3 separate regions of the Homo sapiens genome follow, and all the other regions are linked to region 3. Evidence: promoter capture Hi-C in human tissues and cell types (Jung and others, 2019). All regions are on one chromosome and are shown on one strand. The core of a region is centred on a gene start or on the middle of the fragment in contact, and the rest is flanking DNA. Distances in the headings are between cores, read along the strand shown.

Region 1 (3,329 bases), core at 574-3,073, 280 kb before region 3:
TTTCAGTTCGACTAAAATATGAATTGACAGCACTTAGTTATTGACAGTTTAGTGTATTGAAATCTGGTTTTTAAAAATATGCTTTAGATAAACTATAATACTCTAATAATAACGGAATCATAAAATTTAGAACTGGTAACTGCAAGCTTATATATATATATATATTTGACACCTTTGTAGCTGGCAGAGCGTTTGTATTTTTAAAGAAAAGTTTTTATTTTAGTTATTTTAGTTATTTTTCAATCTAAGAGAGGAAGTCGACTTTCTGAAAAAATTAAAATGTTTTGGCTAGGTGGGGTGGTTCATGCCTGTAATCCCAGCACTTTGGGAGGCCGAGGCAGGTGGATCACCTGAGGTCAGGAGTTCGAGACCAGACTGGCCAACGTGATGAAACCCCACCTCTACTAAAAATACAAAAAATTAGCCAGGTATGCTGGCATGTGCCTGTAATCCCAGCTACTTGGGAGACTGAGGCAGGAGAATTGCTTGAACCCGGGAGGCGGAGGTTGCAGTGGGCTGAGATTGTACCACAACACTCCAGCCTGGGCAACAGAGCAAGACTCTGTCTGAAAAAAAAAAAATTAAAATGTTTTAAAATTAGTATGTCATAGTACCTTCCAGTTAGAGTACGTGAATCTGCATACATGGTAAATGCACCTCTGAAGCACTTGAAGATTGTGAAGTCCCGTTTTCTCTTCTTTTGGATTGCATTATTTCCATTTTAGTGTAAAGGTGAAATTCTCTTTCATGACCTTTCCTGAATTACATATTCCAAGTGAGAGAAGGCAGAAATAATATGTCTGAGAAGAGCATCCTTCACTCTTCCCCTCCTTCCTTCTACTTTCTACATTTTTTTTTTTTTTTTTGAGACAGTGTCTTGCTCTGTCATCCAGGCTGGAGTGCAGTGATGTAATCTTGGCTCACTGCAACCTCCGCCTCCCAGGTTCAAGCGATTCTCCTGCCTCAGCCTCCCAAGTAGCTGGGATTACAGGCACCCGCCACCACACCTGGCTAATTTTTGTGTTTTTATTGGAGATGGGGTTTCACCATTTTGGCCAGGCTGGTCTCAAACTCCTGACCTCAGGTGATCCGCCTGTCTTGGCCTCCCAAAGTGTTGGGATTATAGGCGCTCTGAGCCACTGTGCCTGGCCTTTTTTGTTGTTGTTTGTTTGTTTTTGAAACTAGATATCTCTCTGTCACCCAGGCTGGAGTGCAGTGGTGTGATCTTGGCTTACTGCAACCTCTGCCTCCTGGGCTCAAGCGATCCTCCCACCTCAGCCTCCCAAGTAGCTGGAACCACAGGCACGCGCCACCATGCCCAGGTAATTTTTTTGTAGATATGGGGGTCTCACCATGTTGCCCAGGCTGGTCTCAAACTCCTGGACTCAAGCAATCCTCTCGCCTTGGCCTCTCAAAGTGCTGGGATTACAGGCATGTACCCATCATTTTTTTTTAATGGTTAATTCAAATGCTGCCAGGATAAAGACTATTGAAATGTTGTTGTCTGAAGATGTTAATTTCTTTGTAGCACTGCTATGCCCTAGTTTTACTATTTCCCATTTTCACTTGTAGTTTTTCAATCAGCATTATTGAGGTATAATTTACATGTAGTACAGTTCACCTATTTTAAGTGTACAAGTCTGTGACAACTGTGTATTCAGTAGTATAACCACCACCAAAGTTCACCATTGCTTCAAAAAGTTCCCTCATGCCCCCTTGCAGGTAGTGTTCTAATTGATGCAGACATACATGCACTGATACTTTTGTGATCCTCATCTTACAGGGAAGAAAACGTTTGTAATTTCTTTTTAACAGCATAAAAATGCTGTTTACCTTCAGGTGCAGAGACTTTGTTTCTTCAATATTATTCTTTGATGCTTAGTTTTGTACAGAGGATTGGAAGCTACAGACAAGCTAAAGTATAATAGTGATATGGTAGACTTTAATTATTGTTCCTTTTTTTATGAAAGTATGCACGTGAACAGTTGGAAAGTATTATCTGTTATAAGCTTTTCAGTTTAAGCTGGGCCTCCTCAAATTGATGTGTGTTTAGGAACTAAGAATTTTAAATAACATTTGAAGGGCCGGGCGCAGTAGCTCATACCTGTAATCCCAGCACTTTAGGAGGCCAAGGCAGGCAGATCACAAGGTCAGGAGTTCAAGACCAGCTTGGCCAACATAGTGAAACCCCGTCTCTACTAAAAAAAAAAAAAAATTAGCCAGGCATAAGCTGAGATCATGCCACTGCACTGTAGCCTGGGCAACACAGCAAGACTCTGTCTCAATAAATAAATACCATTTGAAATGTCTTCAATGCCATGTGTGGAAACTATTTAAAAAAATAAAACGTGCCTCTTGGCAGTATTGCTGTGCTTTCAGGACTCTAATGCAGGCTGTACCTAAGAGGGAAAGGGCTGAGTCTGGGGATGGTTGGCAGGTTGTTTTTGTGGATGAAAAACCTTTTACCCATGTATGCAGTCAGTACTGAGCCTTTTTGTGTTTTAAAACTTCAGATGTAAAGACAGGTTAATCTTCAGATTAAAACAAAAGGATGGCCTAGAAACTTGTGACTTCGACATTTACATTAGAAGAATGTAGATGTTTTCAAATAAACAAATCTGCCCATATCATAGATGTTCAAAGTTTGTTCCATATAATAACAATGATAGTTTCTAATAATCGTGTGGCCCTGTTTGCAGAACAGTGTTCTAAGTAATGAGCCATTTGGGAGAACCCTTTAAATTTTTTTTTTAGGATATTTATTCACACCAGCTTTTTAGTCCTGAGTTTCTATCCATCCCTTTGCTATCCAGAACATTTCTTGGCCATTTTTTTACTGGGTCAGGTGCCGTGGCTCGTGCCTTTGGTCCCAGTGCTCTGGAAGGCCAGGGCGGGTGGATCGCCTGGGGTTAGGAGTTCAAGACTAGCGTGGCCAGCATGGTGAAGCCCCGTCTCTACTAGGAATGCAAAAATTGGCTGGGCATGGTGGTGGGTGCCTCTGGTCCCAGCTGCTCGGGAGGCTAAGGCAGGAGAATCACTTGAACCTGGGAGGCAGAGGGTGCAGTGAGCCAAGATCGCGCCACTGCACTCCAGCCTGGGAACAAAATTCCATCTCAAAAAAAATAAAAATAAAAATGCAGAAATTGGTCAGGCGTGGTGTCGCATGCCTCTGGTTCCAGCTACTTGAGAGAGGCTGGGGTGGGAGAGTTGCTTGGGCCTGGGAGGCAAAGGTTGCAGTGAGCAGAGATCGCACCACGGCACTCCAGCCTGGGTGACAGAGCAAGGCTCCATCTCCAAACAAACAAATAACAAAAAAAACCCCTAAAACA
Region 2 (3,458 bases), core at 399-2,898, 360 kb after region 3:
TGGTCTCTGTGGGGAACCCTAAAATTCAGGAAGAAGACTGAGAGCCTCCAGAGTTCTGGCTCCGGACACACCTCACCTTTCCAGCCTGCATTCAAGCCACAAGGGATGGCAAGGAGTCAAGTGACCAATAGCGGCTTGCTTCCCCTTGAACCAACTTGCTGCTAAAGTGTTGACTTAGGTCTATTTCTGAATTCAATCTGGGAGCCACCATCTGACCTCCCAAGCATTTGGTGACCAATGAATGAATAACTCCAATGTCACACATCCTCAGAGAGAGCTCTCTGGAAGAAACAAACAATAAGGCCAAAACTTACTTGCTCCAAATTGACAACCGGACAGACTGAAGTTCTTTCTCACTTCAAAGAACATTTATCCTTCCCTACCCACTGAGCCAGAGGTGACAGACACCTTCCTATGACATTCCTCAGAATGAGGGAGGAGATAAGTAGCAGACCCTGAGGTTTGCCACCATGGCAGTGGTCAGGAAGAGTGGAGGACAACCTCATGGCACCGGTTCCTCGACCTAGAGATCTTCGGCTGCATCAAGGAGACACTTGGCTCCTATTACCTCACATAAAACAGTTACTCAGTCAAGTAAGTATGTGCTAGTTGAATTGTGACTATGTCTTCTGTCATCTACCTTGTAATGTGTGTTATTTCTAGTTGCCTCAATTGGACTATAAAATCTGAAGACAGGGAGGGGTCCAATCTAACACAGCTTTGAATGTCCAAAATGACATCAGGACAGTGACTGGCACACAGGAGGCATTAAAAAAATAATTGAGGCTGGGTGTGGTGGCTCCTGCCTGTAATCCCAGCACTTTGGGAGGCGGCCAAGGCAGGTGGATCACCTGAGGTCAGGAGCCCGAGACCAGCCTGGCCAACATAACAAAACCCCATCTGTACTAAAAAGACAAAAATTAGCTGGGCGTGGTGGCACATGCCTGTAGTCCTGGCTACTTGCAAAGCCGAGGCAGGAGTATCGCTTGAACCTGGGAGGTGGAGGTTGCAGTGAGCTGAGATTGCACCAATGCACACTCCAGCCTGGGCAACAGAGTGAGACTCCATCTAAAAAAATAAAATAAAATAATAATAATAATTTTAAAAAAATGCTGGGCATGGTGGCTCACACCTGTAATCCCAGCACTTTGGGAGGCCGAGGCGGATGGATCACCTGAGGTCAGGAGTTCGAGACCAGCCTGGCCAATGTGGTGAAACCCTGTCTCTACTAAAAATACAAAAATTAGCTGGGTGTGGTGGCAGGCACCTGTAATCCCAGCTACTTGGGAGGCTGAGGCAGGAGAATCACTTGAACCTGGGAGGCGAAGGTTGCAGTGAGCCGGGATTGCGCCATTGAACTCCAGCCTGGGCAACAAGAGGGAAACTCTGTCTCAAAATAAAATAAAAATTGCTGGCTGAATGTTTACTGGTTTGTTTACTTAGTAAACTAGGTTCTGATTTATATTAGATAAAGAGAAGAAGTTGACTCCAGTTGACTGGAAATAGAAGACCAACGGGAACTGTAGGAGAACAGCTCAGCAGGCCATGCCCAGTCAGGGGCAAGAGGTTACCAAGCCCAAAACTTCCCAAGGGAGTGGAGATGTCATGTAAGCAGGCTGTCGACGGATCCTGTCAGGGAAGCCCAATGCTGGCAGAGCCTTCCTGTCCTCCGGCAATACAAGACTGCAGTTTGGCAGGAAGGGTGTGTGCTCACTATAGTCAAACGCTGACAAAACATGGGAAATGGTAGCCTTGCTACACAGCCTCTCCTTCCTGTGGTGCTGTGTGCCCCAGAAATGGGAGAACAAACACACTAGTCACAACCAATTCCCCGCCACCCAGGGCTCTGACCTCTAACTTCACAGAGGCAAACTTTATGTTGACTGAGATGCAACCATCTCCAGCCCCTTGATGGCTGTCTCTTAGAGTATTTCCTTAATTTCTGTTCAGGGATTTACAGATGGGAGGTAGGTTAGGCTATGTCTTTTTTCATGCCCTCCCCAAGCACTGCTTCAGGGACAAGTGATGTCCCAGAGTTCTCCTCCCTGCAGATGCGAGCCCAGGAAGGAGAGCTCAGAGGAGAGGAGTGACCCTCAGAGGACTGCCCAGAGGGAGAGACATGATCTGCCCCTGCTGTGGCCTGCCGGGCGTACCTAGAGCCTTCACGGATATCTGCCGGGTGAGTGGAGGGGGGATGCTGATGCACACCAGATCCACATCTTGATGCAGCAAGATGTCATCAGTCCGGCTGGTGTAGAAGGCGATGTTCATCTCCTCAGCAAGCTGCTTCGCCTCCTCCTCAGTCTTCCCCCACAGGGCCTCAACAGTGAACCCTTCTGCCCTCAGCAGTGGGACCAGAACTCGGGCGGAGCTGCCAGTCCCAAACACGCCCACTCCTGGCAGCATCTTCATCCCAGCCTCTCTCTTTACCAACTCATCTCCTCACAAGAGCCTCTGGCATGGATATGATCTTCCAAACGTCCTGGTCAGACATGGCTCCTAGAATAGCAAACATTACACTGGTTATTACTGGAGAGGACACTCAGCTGAGGCTACTTTCTTTTTTTTTTGAGATGGAGTCTCGCTCTGTTGCCCAAGCTGGAGTGCAGTGGTGCGAAGGCTACTTTCAAATAAGGAAGTAACAAGTTCTCTGCCAGAAAAGCACAAATGAAATAGGGCTCGAGGCCAGGCATGGTGGCTCATGCATGCCTGTAACCCCAGCATTTCAGGAGGCCGAGGTGGGAAGATCACTTGAGGCCAGGAGTTTGAGAGTAGCCTGGGCAACACGGCGAGATGTCATCTCTATTAAAAAATATATATATTAAAAAATAGCCAGATGTGGTGGCATGCGCTTGTTGTAGTCCTAGCTACCTGGGAGGCTGAGGTGAAAGGATCACATGAACCTAGGAGTTCACAACTATAGTAAGCTATGATTGTGCTACTGCACTCCAGCCTGGGCAACAGTGCAAGACCTTGTCTCAAAAGAAAAAAGAAATACTGTTCCAAGATGAAACACTGCAGAATCTTCTTCTTCCATGGAGACTGAAGGATAAGAGGAAAAACGGAAAATGAATAAAGTTGAGTTTAAATCTCTGTTCTGCTACTTAACTTTCTGTGTAACCCTGGTCAAAAGATTCAACTTTCAGGGCCTTAAATGTATAATAAGGGGAGTGATTGATCTTTAAGGTTCCTTCTTGCTATAAAAGTTCATGATTCTATATATGACAAAGAAAAGAAGAGTGGAGGCCAGGCACAGTGGCTCACACCTGTAATCCCAGCACTTTGGGAGGCCAAGGCGGGCGGATCACCTGAGGTAAGGAGTTCAAAACCAGCCGGGTCAACATGGCCAAACCCCATCTCTGCTAAAAATACAAAAAAAAAAACTAGCCAGGTGTGGTGGCAGATGCCTGTAATCCCAGCTCTTCAGGAAGCTGAGGAAGGAGAATCATTTGAACCCA
Region 3 (3,097 bases), core at 443-2,942:
GCTTTCTGTTCTCCTTAAAGGTGGCTGAGAGCTCAATGGGGGTGCTCAGAGTGTGCAGATGTTGGATGCCAAAGAAAACCTACTTCTCGAAGGTGAGCCCCAGTTCTGGTCTCAGTTCCTCTTTTCTTTCTTTCTTTTTTTTCTTTTTTTCTTTTTTTCTTTTTTTTTTTTTTTGAGACGGAGTCTCGCTCTCTAGCCCAGGCTGGAGTGCAGTGGCACGATTTTGGCTCACTGCAAGCTCCACCTCCCGGGTTTACGCCATTCTCCTGCCTCAGCCTCCAGCCTCCTCAAGTAGCTGGGACTACAGGCGCCCGCCACCACGCCCGGCTTTATTTTATTTTATTTTATTTTATTTTGTTTTATTTTTGTATTTTTAGTAGAGATGGGGTTTCACTGTGTTAGCCAGGATGGTCTCGATCTCCTGACCTCGTGATCCACATGCTTCGGCCTCCCAAAGTGCTGGGATTACAGACGTGAGCCACCACGCCCAGCCCACCCTCTTTTCTTGTTAAGGATAGGGTGTGACAAGAGGGTCCTGGCTCCTTCTTACATACATGTCCCATCCACAGGTGGGCTCTTAAGTGCCTGCTGGAGTGAGGGTAGGGGTTAGGGATGCGGCTGTTCTTTCCCAAAGACTACTCAGGGGCTGGTTAGTGCAGAGCTATCGCAGCCTGGCGACAGCCCTCAGTCACAGGCAAGCTTAGGGGAACCTGTGGTGCTTGAAAGACAAAAGGCTTCTTGCCGGACTGACTTCAGGAAACGGGGTAGCCCTAAAGCAGTCATCCCCACCCCATTACAAAGAGCTTCTCTCTTTCCCACGCTGATCCTTCTCCCCCGAAGAAGCTCCGTCCAAGTAAATTTCTTACCTTTTTTTTTTTTTTTTTTTTGAGACAAGGTCTGGCTCTGTCACTCAGGTCGCCCAGGCTGGAGTGCAGTGGTGCAATCTCGGTTCACTGCAACCTCCACCTCCCGGGTTCAAGCGATTCTCCTGCCTCAGCCTCCCGAGTAGCTGGGACTACAGGCCGTGCCACCACACCCGGCTAATTTTTGTATTTTTAGTAGAGATGGGGTTTCACCATGTTGGCCAGGCTGGTCTTGAACTCTTGACCTCAGGTGATCCGCCCACCTCGGGCTCCCAAAGTGCTGGGATTACAGGCGTGAGACACCGCGCCCAGCCCGTCCAAGTCAATTTCTAGAGCTAGAACTTCCTCATGCTCTAAAGACAGGACCCCAACTCCTCAGAGCCAGGATTCCCAACCTTTCAGATCTGGAGCTCCCCATCATGCCTTAGAGTTCTGTCCCCACGCTCCAATCCTTCAGATTTGGATCTCCCCTTCACACACACCCTCGCCTTGCCCCAAAGTCAGCATCCCCCAGCGCTGAGATATGAAGACCACCCCGTCAAAGGGGCACACGCCCAGCCCTCAGAACCGGAGTCCCCCACATCCTCAGAGCCAGAACACTTCATCCCTCAAGACAGAGCGTTATTCTAACTCCTCAGAGCCAGCCCCCCAAATCCTTCCCGGCTGGGGGCCCCTCGCTCTCTCCCATGCCCCAGAGCCAGGTCTCGAACCACTTAGCCCCAATCCTTGGCCACAGCGGCCCCCATTCGCCGCTTTGGTGCTTTTGGCGCCCCCGCCAGAGCGGGCTCCGTACCATGGTCGCGGCTCCAGCAGCGGGCGGGCGGGCTTGTGACCCGGCCAATAACGGTTCCCGGGGTCGCGGCGGCGCGCGCGCGGGGGGCGGGGCAGTGGGCGGGGCCTGGCGTGCGCCGGGTGGTCTCGCGGGCGGTGGCAGGTGAGCGGCGGGCGGGGATGGCGGAGCAATGGGAGCTGGACGAGGAAGGCATTCGCCGCCTGGGGGCGCTGACGCTGGAGCAGCCGGGTAGGGTCTGGCCGGGAGGGTGTGGACTGGGAACGTAGGGTCAGAAGCTGTGGAAAGAAAACTGAAGTGGAAGGCGGGGAACCTGAGATAGAGGCGAGGGAACCACAGAGAAGCGGTACCTGAGGCTGGGGGGCGGGGGGATAACTTGAGGCAGAAGGTTAGAGGGAGGTGGAGGTGGAGGAACTGAAGTAACGGGAGGGTGTGGGGCAGAGCCCGAGGAATTGAGAGAGAAGAGGGGAGTGTGAAGTAGGGAAGGAGAAACAAGGTTAACAGGGGACCCTGCCGCAGGTGACAGAACTGCGGGGGGCGGTGGCTGACCGCTGTAATCCCAGCACTTTGGGAGGCGGAGGCGGGTGGATCACCTGAGCGTGGCCAACATGGTGAAACCCCGTCTCTACTAAAATACAAAAATTAGCCCGGCGTGGTGGTTCAAGTCTATAATCCCAGCTACTCGGGAGGCTGAGGCAGGAGAATCGCTTGAACCCGGGAGGCGGAGGTTGCAGTTAGCCGAGATCGCACCACTGCACTGCAGCCTGGGCGACAGAGCGAGACTCCATCTCAAAAATAATAATAATAAATAAAATAAATAAATAATAAAATGTCTATTAGACATCCAAGTGTAAGGTACCTAGTAGGCAGTTGGATATATGGGTCTGGACCTCAGAGGAGAGGTCAGGGTTAGAGATGAAAATTTTGGAGACATTAGCAATAGGTGGTATTTAAAGCTACGGGAGTGGATGAACTCAGCTAAGGAGAGAATGTCGATGGAGAAGTGAAAGAAAGCTTAAGACTCAACCTTGGAATATTTCAGTGTTTAGAGGTTGTATAGAGGAAGAATGTGGTATCTTGGAATTTGAGAAGGGGTAGTGTATCGAGCAAGCAATGGCCAACTGTGCCAAATGCTATTGACAGGCTGAGCAACTTAAATGCAGAGTGTCTGTTAGATTTAGCAACATGGAACTTACTGGTGACCTTGACAGAGGGAGTTTTGGGAGGGTGGGGAGGAGGGAAACCAGATTGGAGTGGGATGAAAAAGGGAAATGATATTTGAGGGGAAGAGACAGTGAAAGTAAGAACTTTTGCTGAAAATTTTAGCTGTAAAAGAGACTGCAGAAATAGATGGTAGCTGAAGCGTATGATGTGCAGTCAAGAACAGAACAGGAAGGATATACTAGAGCATGTCGGTAGTCTAATGATTAATTTGGTAGAGGGG

What was found. The method cuts DNA at HindIII sites, captures the fragments that hold promoters and counts their contacts. A contact is called where the count stands out against the background at its distance.
Region 1: a contact is called between a fragment that was not itself captured here and the fragment with the promoter of KCTD19 in region 3, in 2 of the 25 tissues and cell types used here (dorsolateral prefrontal cortex and mesenchymal stem cells).
Region 2: a contact is called between a fragment that was not itself captured here and the fragment with the promoter of KCTD19 in region 3, in 1 of the 25 tissues and cell types used here (dorsolateral prefrontal cortex).

The regions. Positions count from the first base shown.
Region 1 is chr16:67,044,948-67,048,276 of GRCh38, forward strand. The region is part of intron 3 of CBFB (core-binding factor subunit beta); the gene reads left to right. Among named protein-coding and RNA genes, the nearest start is that of CBFB, 17 kb to the left of the region's middle. The HindIII fragment of the contact is 7,078 bases long and covers 1-3,329 here.
Region 2 is chr16:67,683,304-67,686,761 of GRCh38, forward strand. GFOD2 (Gfo/Idh/MocA-like oxidoreductase domain containing 2) reads right to left here. Exons shown (of 3, transcript NM_030819.4): 2 at 2,154-2,499. The coding sequence starts at 2,412. Among named protein-coding and RNA genes, the nearest start is that of C16orf86, 18 kb to the left of the region's middle. RefSeq lists enhancers at 213-1,412, 2,459-2,518. The HindIII fragment of the contact is 6,447 bases long and covers 1-3,458 here.
Region 3 is chr16:67,325,049-67,328,145 of GRCh38, forward strand. KCTD19 (potassium channel tetramerization domain containing 19) reads right to left here and starts at 1,693. Exons shown (of 16, transcript NM_001100915.3): 1 at 1,657-1,693. The coding sequence starts at 1,659. LRRC36 (leucine rich repeat containing 36) reads left to right here and starts at 1,767. Exons shown (of 14, transcript NM_018296.6): 1 at 1,767-1,884. The coding sequence starts at 1,815. RefSeq lists a silencer at 1,660-1,809. The HindIII fragment of the contact is 4,520 bases long and covers 1-3,097 here.